Regions from separate parts of the Homo sapiens genome. Here region 2 is linked to region 1. The links are contacts of gene promoters, found by promoter capture Hi-C in human tissues and cell types (Jung and others, 2019). All regions are on one chromosome and are shown on one strand. The core of a region is centred on a gene start or on the middle of the fragment in contact, and the rest is flanking DNA. Distances in the headings are between cores, read along the strand shown. Region 1 holds the start of CUL9 (cullin 9). Region 2 overlaps TOMM6 (translocase of outer mitochondrial membrane 6).

Evidence for each region. Contacts are between HindIII fragments. The study calls those that stand out against the background at their distance.
Region 2: a fragment that was not itself captured here is called in contact with the fragment with the promoter of CUL9 in region 1 in 1 of the 25 tissues and cell types used here (spleen).

What each region holds. Positions count from the first base shown.
Region 1 is chr6:43,178,071-43,184,109 of GRCh38, reverse strand. It overlaps CUL9 (cullin 9), which reads right to left and starts at 1,914. Exons shown (of 41, transcript NM_015089.4): 1 at 1,861-1,914. It overlaps SRF (serum response factor), which reads right to left. Exons shown (of 7, transcript NM_003131.4): 5 at 5,625-5,816; 6 at 5,228-5,304; 7 at 2,604-5,015. The coding sequence ends at 4,920. RefSeq lists silencers at 1,714-1,763, 1,784-1,923 and enhancers at 2,174-2,243, 5,246-5,745, 5,746-6,039. The HindIII fragment of the contact is 4,480 bases long and covers 569-5,048 here.
Region 2 is chr6:41,788,232-41,794,270 of GRCh38, reverse strand. It overlaps TOMM6 (translocase of outer mitochondrial membrane 6), which reads right to left. Exons shown (of 3, transcript NM_001382294.1): 2 at 4,935-5,039; 3 at 4,376-4,703. The coding sequence ends at 4,943. USP49 (ubiquitin specific peptidase 49) reads left to right here. Exons shown (of 8, transcript NM_001286554.2): 8 at 1-4,375. Among named protein-coding and RNA genes, the nearest start is that of TOMM6, 3.6 kb to the right of the region's middle. RefSeq lists an enhancer at 5,890-6,039. The HindIII fragment of the contact is 3,149 bases long and covers 2,375-5,523 here.

The sequences.
Region 1 (6,039 bases), core at 665-3,164:
AGGAGAATGGAGTGAAGACAGAGAGGGGATGAAGAAGGGGTTTAAGAAATGGAAGAGTTGGCTGCGCCCAGTGGCTCACGCCTGTAATCCCAGCACTTTAGGAGGCCAAGGTGGGCAGATCACGAGGTCAGGAATTCAAGTCCAGCCTGGTCAACATAGTGAAACCCCGTCTCTACTAAAAATACAAAAATTAGCCAGGTGTGGTGGCACATGCCCGTAGTCCCAGCTACTCAGGAGGCTGAGGCAGGAGAATCACTTGAACCCAGGAGGCGGAGGTTGCAGTGAGCCAAGACCGCGCCACTGTACTCCAGCCTGGGCAACAGAGTGAGATTCTGTCAAAAAAAAGAAAAAAAGAAAGAAAGAGAGAGAGAGGAAGGAAGGAAGGAAGGAAGGAAGGAAGGAAGAAAGGAAGGAAGGGGAGTTTACAAAAAGAGAATTAAAACAGTAATAGGCAAAGTAACAATAAACAGAGTGACAGTTAAGCAAGACAGTTTAGGCAGGATAGCAGGGTGGCTGAGGGTTACAGATTAGGACTTAGAAGAATGACATGGGTGGACAGGAAGGACAGCAGCATGTGAGGCAGTGGGATCAGAACATGTGAGGAAAAGTAGGATAGCGGAGGGGCAGGACAGGGAGCATAAATGACAGAGTAAAGCTGCAAGGTGGATGTAAAGGGTGGGCCATGGCAGATATAGAGAATGGAGATGACAAAAGGCTGGGATGTTGGGGCAAATGACTGGATAGGAAAAGTATATTCGAGTCTTGTGAAAGGGGGAGGGCCCTAGGGACCAGATAAAATTATGGGAAAGATGACCAGGTCCCACCCTGCCCTTATACTGCATGTATGGTAAGGATTTAAGTAAGTTAAGTAGATAAGATAGAGGTGGTAATCATGGGGTTAAAGGTAGGAAATGAGGTCAGGAGAGAAGCAATATTCAGAGACTTCAGTATCAGATAAATGTGACTCTGAATTCTGGCTTTCTGTCTCACTGTCTGCATAGTTTGGAACAAGTTACTTAACCTCTGAGCTTGTTTCCTCTTCTGCAAGATGGTAGTAATATTCATAGTTACTTCATGAATTTAGTAGGATCATGTATGTAAAGCACTTGGAACAGCATCTAGCACATAAAGAGTGTTCAGTAAACATAATCTGTTATTATTCTTAGATGGAGAAGGTAGGGGAGTCATCAAATAAATGCAAAGTTATTAAGACCGATTATAAATGGGAGTGGAATAATCAGGAAAGATATGCGTGATATGAAGCAGTGCAGGGGCAACAGGGAATAGTGAGAATAAGAATGGAAGAAGGTAAACCCAGATGAAGATATAGTGGTCAGGGCAGGGGTCATGTTGGGGTACAGGGACAGAAGATGAGAGTAGAGGTGAAGAGGAGGGAGAAAGATGGATGTGGACCTCAATGGAGGTAGGGGTCCACTTAGGATGGGGGGCAAGCCTGGATGGTAGCCAGCGATGTGCCAGCGGGCAACTGATTAGCAGCAGGGGGAAGTAAAAGAATCGGATAGGAGGAGGTAGGAGGTGTAACGTCGGCCTAGAAGAGCAACAATAAACTGAGGTGTGGGGGTGAGCTCTGGACGCATGGATGAGACCAGCAGATAGCAAGGTCAAGCCCAAGCTTGCAGAGCCGTGGGGAGGTGGAGGAGGCCAGCACCGCAGAGGGAACGGGTTTGGGGGGAGGGGGAAGGATGGTTGGGGGCGCGGTCCAAAAAAGCTGAAAAGATCCAGTGAATCTCAGAGAGCAAGACCTGGTTCCCTTCGTCAGCCCCATGGACAGTGGCTAAAGGACCGGGGAGGGGACAGGAGAAGGGGAGGGATTGGGTCGGCGCAGAACTCTCCTCTCACCTCCCACCGCCCGGCTCAGCCCTCGCTGGGACCCAGCGGCCGGTCCCGCCGTCCTGGCCCCGCCTCCTCAGAGCTCCCTTCCGGGTCACACGGCGAGTGCACGCACGGCCGGGCACCTACGGGTCCCACCGCGGCCCACGCCGAGCGTGGCGGAACAGCGCGCGAGTGGAGCATGCGTGCTACCGCGGGCGGCTGCACTGGAAGAGGGGCGTGGGGGCGCGCTACCGGAGGAGCCTGGGATCGAGGTCACGTTGCTCCTCTCTCAGCAGCAGGAAGAAGCCGTTTCCATCCAGTCAACTGTGAAGCCCCCTCCTCTTCACTGGGTCGGCCCTCCTAATCCTCCCTCTCCCATCACAGCGATCATGCTGACGAAACATGGTAACCCACATTCCCACCTTAAGGCTGCCCTTTTTGACTTTTCAGTAGGTCAGGTGCCCATGAGTTTCCCAAACCCTTCAGCAATGCTTTGGATTAGTTGTGTCACTTTTCCTGTTAATTAAAATTTGCTCCTCTGCGTTGGCCTTAACACCTAGCGAAGCCACGCACAGGGAGAAGGTCCTCGGCCCCGCAAAACTTTCCTTAAATTAAATCGTATAGAATTAAACAGCCCAAAGCACACCTTAGCATTACCGTTCTCATCAAGCAGCCCGGATCGCTACTCAGAGCAGCAATTTTAGGAGTTTGCCTCGCGTTCATACCCCCATCCCTCCCTAAGTAGAAAAACAGAACCAAAGACCCCACAGTCTGTGCACAAAAATGATACATTTATTGAAAGAGTATTTTTTTTTAATACAAAAGAAAGCTCTGTACATAGGACTGTGACCATGTCCACTATTCCTGGGTCAGCATCCCAGGGGAAGTAGAAACCACTGACATACACACTCACATTCAAGCACACACACTCACTCAGGCGCACACACCCACACACACATACCCCAGAGCCACCGAGGAAGGGAAACACCAAGGGTCGCTGCACATAAAAATATCACCTCAACTCATCCCTGACACACGCATGTCCTCCCAAGGCCACGCTCACACAACACACATTATAAGCACTTTGCCTGATTCACTCACTGGGTCTGTCTTTTGTGGGAAGGAGAGGAAGAATTCATCAAAGGTCTCCTCCCCATGGGTGGGGGAGTGGGGAGTGAGTGAGTGATGGTGGAGTGAAACAAGAGCAGAGAAAAGGGGCTGGGCAGTTACAGACCTGAGTCCCAAGCTCCCCTGCTCTCTGGCCCCTGATTTGCCATGCCCCAGCCTTGAAAGCCACCCATAAGCCCCAGCTATCTCCAGGAGAAAGCCCAGAAAGGTGACTTCCATCTTGGCACCCCAAACTGGGGCAAGACAGCAATGAGGGTTAGAGGTTAGGGGGTTCTCAAACATGTCGGCAAATCATCCCCTTGATAACTAGGCTGTGCATAAAATCTTCCCCCATCCCTTCACCTAATCACAGAAGCCAGCTTGTTCCTACTGAAGGCAGTCTTAGGGGTTAAGAAAATTTCACCCCACTGCTGCCCTGTTTCTGAAAAAGCTCCCCTTCTGGATATAGGTGGTGAAGGTAGGCTCTGACACAGGGTAAAAGACCCTCCCCCCTATGCTGGCCCACCCTCAAGGTCTACCCCAAAGGGGGAGGAGGGGGGTGGGGCATGGCCCCTGTACAAATTACATAAATACTGAGGTTACACTTAGAAAAATAAAGTCATTTTCTTCAAGGCTTTTTGTCTTAATTTAAAAAAGTTACAGTAGCTGCTCACTCCCTGGGAGAACTGCCCATTTCTGGCTCCCCTTTGGCTGCACTCAGCCCAAGAAGCTGCTCCCACTTCTTCTGACCCCCATTCCTGCCTCTCACCCCCTCCCAGACCCCACCCTGCTCACTGCAACTTGGGCCCCAGGCAGCTGCATGCCTGGGACAGCGCAAGGCTGCAATGCCCATGCGTGTGGCACAAATGAAGTCAGTTGCCTCTGCCTGACGCCCTCCCACCCCAACCCCGACATTTGGTCTCCCTCTTCCCTCTCCCTAGCAACAGCCCTAAAGGGCAAAAAGAGGCCCAGAGCTGTGGGTCACCCTCCCCACCCCGTTGGGGAATGGCCTGAGGGCCCCTCCCCCGGCTTTCTCCTGGAAACAACCCAGGACTGGGCAAACCCAGAATCTCCCCCACACACTGGTGGACCCCGAGCTCATGGGGTGGCTCTGTCCCCAGGGGCCCAGCCAGTTCTGGGGAGCCTGAGGGCTCCCCAGGGAAGGGGAGTTTGGGCAGGGAGGGGGACGAGAAAAACGCCATAAAAAAAAGTTAAATATTTTAAAAATATATATTTATAGATTTGTTTTCACTTCGTCTCCTCAAATAAAAAGTTCAAAATCAACTTTAAGTAAAGCAGCTGGGAGGAGAGGGGGGAAGACAAGGGGGAGAAGGGAACGCTGGTGGTTCCCTCCAACCCAGGAGCCCCTGGAGGTCCAAGGGGAGCGGCAAGGCAGGGCAGGCGGCCCCAGGAACCTGCCCAGTGCACAGGCCCAGCTACTCAGGAGCTGAAGGGGGAGAGGACAGCAGTGTGAGGAAGAAGCCCCCATCTCCCCAGCTGGCCCCCTGAGGGGCAGAGCCAGGGCTCTTTTGACCCAGCCTGTGACAGACACAGGGCTGACCTGGGGTCAGCAAGGAGGCTGGCAAGAGGGCCCCAACTGCTTCCTCAGAGGAGGACACGGTGCCCAGCCCCACAGAAGGCCTGTGTGTGGGGAGGTGGGGCACGGTCCCATTGGGTAAGCTAATACTCATGGCAAACATCGAGCCAAGCTGGCGAGGGGGTCCCAGGAAGGAGGACAGCCCCTCCAGCAACAGAAATGGGAGGTGGGGCGGGAAGAAGGGGAGGCTGAGGGAGGACGGGTGGAGGCAGGCAGGCCCATTTCTTTGGCTGGAGTGAGAGGGCTCAGTCCTGTGGCTGCCCGTTCCTCCTCCCCGCCTCCCTCCTGCGGCCCGTCAACGTGTGTGTAAAGAAAACGTGAAAAGGCAACAATAAATAAGTGGTGCCATCCCTTGGGCCATCTGTCCAGGGCGGCGGGCGGATCATTCACTCTTGGTGCTGTGGGCGGTGTCCAGGTTCACCACCTGTAGCTCGGTGAGGTTGCTGCTGCTCCCGGCCTGCTGCCCTATCACAGCCATCTGGAGGGAAGGGGATGTATGAGGAGGGGCAGGGACTGGCCAGCCAGTTCAGGCTCCCCTGGCTTCCCTGCCTGCCAACCACAGGCCTGAGCAGAAAAGCAGATGGGCTTCCAGGCTAGGGATTTTGGCTTTGATGAACTGGTAACAGGATCCCCTAAGGTCAAGACAAAGAAGTGGCTATCTGGGATGGGGTGAAAGATATCCCTACCTACCTGGTGGAGCTGAACTGCTGAAACAGGGATCTGCACTGTCCCAGATGATGCTGTCAGGAACACCTGGGGGACGCCACCTACATTGGAAAACCACAGGAGATACTCAAATTGTTTGTTGAAACTTCCAGATATTGGAGGAGTGGTGTCAAATGCACAAGTGACTGGGGCAGTCTCAGATGTAAGAGCCCAAGGGAAAGGGTGCCAGTGTGTCTGAGGGTGCATGCGGGTGTGAGTGTCCAAGTGGGGTGTCCAAATGTGTGTGTGAGCATCCAAGTCTGTGTTGTATTTGGGTAGAAATATTTGTAGGCATCAGTGCATATGTGTGTGTATGTGTGTGTGTGTGTGTGTATAAAGAAGGAAACGGTCCTCCTTTCCTTAGCCCTGCTCCTCTACTCACCTGGCTCCTGGACCTGGCTGTGTGACACCTGCATGGTGGATGGTGCCTGGGAGAAGGCATTCAGCACGGTGAGGCTGCCATCACCCAGGCCCGAGGTGGGGGCATACATCACCGCATGCGGGCTAGGGTACATCATGTGGCCACCCACAGTTGTGGGCACGGATGACGTCATGATGGTGGCGGGCAGCGTCACTGGCAAACACAGACATGTGTCAGCTCGGCACTGGTCCCCACTGATAACTCCCATTCCGTCCCTAGGAATTCCAGGCCCCCAGAGCCCTCTTGCCATTTCCCAGGTCAGAAGCTAGACACGACTATTCCTCAGCTCCATCATCAACTAAGAAAAGCCTATTTTTTCTTGAACACAACAGCATCAATCTTTAATTGTATCCTATCACATTGTACTATTTATTCA
Region 2 (6,039 bases), core at 2,700-5,199, 1.4 Mb after region 1:
CTTAGCTGAGCACGCATATATCAAAGTAATAAAAGAAACTAACATCAGAGTCTCCACTGAGCTACACATTTGTGAAAGGTGCCCACTGCAGTTACAGACACCTCAGGTACCCAGAGGCGGCAGCACTGGACACTTAGGACGTTAGTATTTAAGGAGATTTTTATTAAAGAAGAGTTCCCTGCTGCATAAGCCAATGGCTATTGTGAGGGAAATGTCCCTTTGCCTTTAATTTATTTACGTACTGGGTATAGATGAATGTCTCAGTTGCATCTGAAATTGAATCATTCTAAAGAGAAGAAAATAAGAACCAGGTAAAAACTGACTAGATGCTGCCAAATCAAACCCAAGGTCTCCTAACCGAACCTTAATGGGCCTGCTTCTCTCCCAGGGCAAGTAGTTAAGAGTCTCATTCCAGGAACCCTTTGTAGTTAGTTGGCTGGCATGTTTACTTGCTGCTGTAGCCAGCCAAGATGAGTGCACCTAGGCCCTCAAAAAGGATTTTTTTTTACCTCAATCTAGCCTGACCCTCATATCTGTGGTTGCCTCTGAGACGAACATCCATGCTAGTATAAAAATAGTTAGGAATGCCCTTGGCAGAACTGAAGCTCTTATTAAATGGTGGACAGAGCTCTTGCCAGCTTTGATCCAGCCCCTCAGTCTCGGAGTTATGGGGCAGGGTTGGGGGGCAGTGCTACACTGTAAAGAATTTCCAGGCTGGGCGCGGTGGCTCATGCCTGTAATCCCAGCACTTTGGGAGGCCGAGGAGGGCGGATCACAAGGTCAAGAGATTGAGATCATCCTGGCCAACATGGTGAAACTCCGTCTCTACTAAAAATACAAAAATTAGCTGGGCATGGTGGCACGTGCCTGTAGTCCCAGCTACTTGGGAGGCTGAGGCAGGAGAATCGCTGGAACCCAGGAGGCAGAAGGGGCAGTGAGCCGAGATCGTGCCACTGCACTCCAGCCTGGCGACAGAGCGAGACTCTGTCTTAAAAAAAAAACAAAAACAAAAACAAAAAAAAAAAAAGAATTTCCAGATGTCTCTTAAAATGTCATGAATAAAATTGGAAACTGTAGAAGTGTTAATGTGTCCTATGGACTCAATAGCAGAGTTTATTTTTGTTTTTAATGGCAAGGCTTCTAGAGTCAATGATTGTATGAGTTTGCTACTCTGGCTGTGCTTACAGCTTCATCCAAGTACAAGGGAAGAACCAATGAGGTGGATTGGCTGACAGTGGGGCATGCCCCAGCATAAGCCCTAGAGAGGTCGACAGTAGTGCAGAATGAAAACTTGGTCGGGGATGGCGGGTGGTGGGTGGGAGGAGGGTGGGCTGGCCGGGAGGGAGAAATGGAGTTTGTTCTACTTACTGATAAAGCTTTGTGAACTAATTTTATACAATTCATAAAATTTGGTGCCTTGTACTCAATTACGGTTTGCATGGAATTGAAAAGATTAAGGGAAAGGATTTCTTCTTGTCATTTCAAGTGGCAAATGGGTCTGTGTAGTGTTTAAAGGACATCTGGTATCACAGACTTTTAAAAAGCATTTCATGTCTCTTGTGTGTGAATGCAAATTATTCTTACCAGCAAGTTCTGAAATTATGTTACAATGTCCAAATTCTTTGTATTTGTGACTGTTCATCAAATGGCTGCTTTTCAAGGCAGACTGTGTACTCCATTGTTTTTCACTTCCCTTGTCATGTTCCATACATTGACTTGGGCCTTTTTAAATCAGGCTGGGGGGCTACCCCTTCTTAAATGAATACTATATCCCTATCTGAGGTTACCTCTTGTGAGTGGAAGGGTTGCTTTCCCAGGTGGTTGGGAGAGCACAAATGTTGAGAAAAGGCCTTTTAGTCTTTATCAAAACAATGACTAATGCTGGGCAACATATAGCAGAAGTCAAACAAAAATGATTCCTCCTGAAATGGTACCTTCATTGGTTCTGATGTTCTTTTGCAAAAAATGTCCGGAAGCAGTATAGAAAACCCCCTGTATGTGAACCTTAGATTGTAAGGCAAGCCAGTGCACTGTGTAATATGCAAAGGGAGTGGTGCAAAAGAGAAGGCACCCGTCCCAGCTCTCCATGCCCTTTCCCTGGCAGGCGCTGACTGAGATGGCGCTGAGTGAATGTGGAAGGTGCTAAGACCCAGTCTCTTCACTGCAGGGCTGTTTACAGCCAGTTTCTTTTACTCTGACCTTAAGGTTTCCACTGAGCTCATGAAACTTCAACATATGGTGTTTAAAAGTTTCCCACTCAAATGCACACTTGAAAATTGGGTCCCTCAGCCTCATTACTGAACTAAATAAGTGAAGAAGTTGTATCTTTGGGGTAAAACTTTCCAGGGCCACTTAATTTTTTAACCAGTTAAGTACGCATCTTCCTGGTGGTTCAGACTTTTTAAGTCAGTGCTAAAGCTGAAAAGCGCCTTCTAAATATGACTGTGAGTTTAGTTTGTATCTTACATTTAGTAACTGTTCTGTTGGGCCAGGACTATGACTTTAATTACTATGTACTTATTCATCCCACACTCTGCACTAAATACACCATAGCTACTATAGCATTGTGGCAGGCACTCATTTTTGTGGACTCATTCCATACTTCTGCTGGCATATTTCGTTTAAAATCTAGCTAAAGATTTTCATAGTACTGTGTTAACTAGCCAGGGCTGAAAAGTGTGACAGGATATCAAATTGACTTTCCTTGGGGAAAATGTTGCTTTGGCAATAGTGAAGTCCAACTCCTTCATTTACAGAATTAGTGATTACTCATCAATTTTTGAAAGTTGTAGATTAAGTAGTTTTATTTACTAAATTCTTAACCACTTTGAAGATTTAAGCCAGTTGAAATGAAACATTGGCTGGATGCAGTTGGCTAGCACCTGTAATCCCAACACTTTGGGAGGCCAAGGTGGGAGGATTGCTTGAGGCCAGGAGCTCAAGACCAGCCTGGGAAACATAGATTTGAAATCTTTTCAAAAATGTATAAAAATTTAATAAATAAATAAATGAATCCTTACTCAACCATAATTATGGCTTTAAAACCCAACCAACAGTAAACACTTACTTGAAGCCAAAACAGTAAATTTTGAATGAAATTTGAATTATGCTTTTGGAAGCTGCCATGTCTTAATTCTTGCTGGATTTTGATTTTCAATTTTGGAAGTTTTTATCAAAACTGTCCAGTCATGAGTATATCAGGTAGCAGCCTTTAAGGATCTAAGTTTCATTCCTATAAAGAACAGGAGGTGCTGGTATTTCTTGTCTTAGCAAGTGATCTGATGCAGGTCTAAATGGGGGTTAGCATCTATACTATGGCTTAAAAGTTTCCTCCTTGGTCACCATTTGGGAGGTGATGGCTTCAAAGCTAAGCTTTGCTCTCATGTGACCCTTCTTTATCTTAATACCCAATAAGATATAAACCTCTCAGAGTCAACCCAGTGTAGACTCAAAGGGTCTTAGCTTCATCTATCAGATAAGATCTATCTGATTTATACAAAGAATGGTGCTGTTTTTATATACATACTAAAAAAATCTAATTCTCAAACAATTTTCTTAATATTTATGCCAGCAAGGTCAGGAAAGACTATTTTGTCCTGTTTAACTTTAGTAGTGAACAAACTGCTAGAGACATCTGTCATCCTTAACAGGCCACTGTGGTCCTTATATACTGACCCTCCTTTCCAATTAACGTCCTTTAATCCCATACTAGTTCCATAAGAGACTTGGCACATAAAAGCAGTATTTTTTTTAATGCCTAGTAAACTGGCCAGAAAAAAATATTGCCATGGTGGACCTGTTTCTATCCACCTCTTTCTATGGCTATATAAGTCTATACATGCCAGTTCCGTACATACTCCATTTCCAAAGAGCCCCCAAACCCTGGACAGTAGCACTACCATGAATTTTAGGGTCACAAAACATTTCCTTCTGAAGGAAGCAGCTGCCTCAGCAGTGTCACTTTAGTGACCACTGCCCAGGCTTACTTCACTTTGCCTCCCCCTACACATCACTGCCCTCTTTCTGCCACCAAACCTCACTATTCCAGCAATGATGCCTCCCTGGTGTCTGGAAAACCCATCTGGTGCACTAAAATGCTATGCAACACCAAATGGCTTCTTCCCCTAATATTGCTCAACAATGTAAATTCTTCAAGAATAAACTTCATGCTAGGTTAACATCAATGTATGGTTACAGCTTCCTTTTTTTTTTTTCCCTTTTAAAATGAAGCAAACCACCTCCATTAAAATCCATGTTTTGGGGCTTGTTTTTGTCTCTCAAGTGTGAAATATAAATCATGTTTTTATGATTTTTGTAAATCTTTTTACACCTTGTTTTTGTAAGCAAAAGTTTCTTATTAAAAGAATAAAATGACTGCCTTTGTGTGCGGTATTTATTTCAAATGTTTTTTAAAACAGCACTGTTATTTCTCAGGACAAGAGCAAAAATCACCCCCTGCAGAAGCTTGGGAACTATGTACAGAACTTTACAGAATAGAGGCAATACTTTAGCTTAAGCCTGTCTGCTGACCAGAGAATGGAATTCTGCGTGGACTCAAGGAACAAAAGGAAACTAGGCAGGGAAGGGGAAGAAAAGTGCCCATCTGAATCAAACTTCAGCTGCCATCAGGGCACATCTTGTGGTGGTCACAGATTGTAGGCTGTTTTTTGGAAGATTCGGGTTCAGCACAGGATTCCATTTGTCTGCAATCAGATGATAAGACGACAGGTGGCATTAGAACTGTAAAAGTATGGGAGGGAAACTGGTAAGAGATACTTAAATCCCTTTCAACATCTGAAAACACATTTAACTAGGAATAGTTAAGGGTTTTACATCACATTCTTTTGTACATTTCATGAATACTTGACAGAAAACATTGCTTCACCCAGTCTCTAGGTCTCCTAAGACACGCATGGGTGTAGTTCAGTGCTTACCTACTTGGCTACACCCCTGGCTGAGGTGCCATGAGGTCAATGTCACTCAAGTTCCTGGCCAGCCAAACTCCCGCAGCAAAGAGTCCCAAATTTAGTATCAAGTTCCTGGAAAAACAATGTGTTTTATTAACCCTGTGGTCACTGAGTCAGTTGTACAGTTAACGAAATGTACTGGGGGGAAAGGCTTCCATCACCACCTTCCCGAGGCGTTGATACGTGGTTGTGACGGCAGGTTGCTCAAGACCCACGTGGGAATTTGGAGTTCATTTTTGTGCCTAGTAAGTGTAAGGTCAGGCTGGGCGCGGTGGTTCACGCCTGTAATCCCAGCACTTTGGAAGGCCAAGGCAGGCGGATCACGAAGTCAGGAGCTCGAGACCAGCCTGGCCAACATGGTGAAACCCCGTCTCTACTAAAAATACAAAAATTAGCTGGGCGTGGTGGTGCGCGCCTGTAATCCCAGCTACTGGGGAGGCTGAGGCAGGAAAATCGCTTGAACCCGGGAGGCGGAGGCTGCAGTGAGCTGAGGTCCGCCACTACACTCCAGCCTGGGCGACAGAGCGAGGCTGTCTCAAAAAGAAATAAATGTGGCCGGGCGCGGTGGCTCACGCCTGTAATCCCAGCACTTTGGGAGGCAGAGTCGGGTGGATCGAGAAGTCAGGAGTTTGAGACCAGCCTGCCCAAGATGGTGAAACCCCGTCTCTACTAAAAATACAAAAATTAGCTGGGCGTGGTGGCGCGCGCTTGTAATCCCAGCTACTGGGGAGGCTGAGGCAGGAGAATCGCTTGAACCCGGGAGGCAGAAGGGGCAGTGAGCCGAGATTGCGCCTCTGCACTCCAGCCTGGGCGACAGAGTGAGACTCCGTCTCAAAAAAAAAAAAAAAAAAAAAAAAAAAGGCCGGGCGTGGTGGCTCACGCCTGTAATCCCAGCACTTTGGGAGGCCGAGGCGGGCGGATCACGAGGTCAGGAGATCGAGACCATCCTGGATAACACGGTGAAACCCCGTCTCTACTAAAAATACAAAAAATTAGCAGGGCGTGGTGGCGGGCGGCCGTAGTCCCAGCTACTCGGGAGGCTGAGGCAGGAGAATGGCGTGAACCCGGGAGG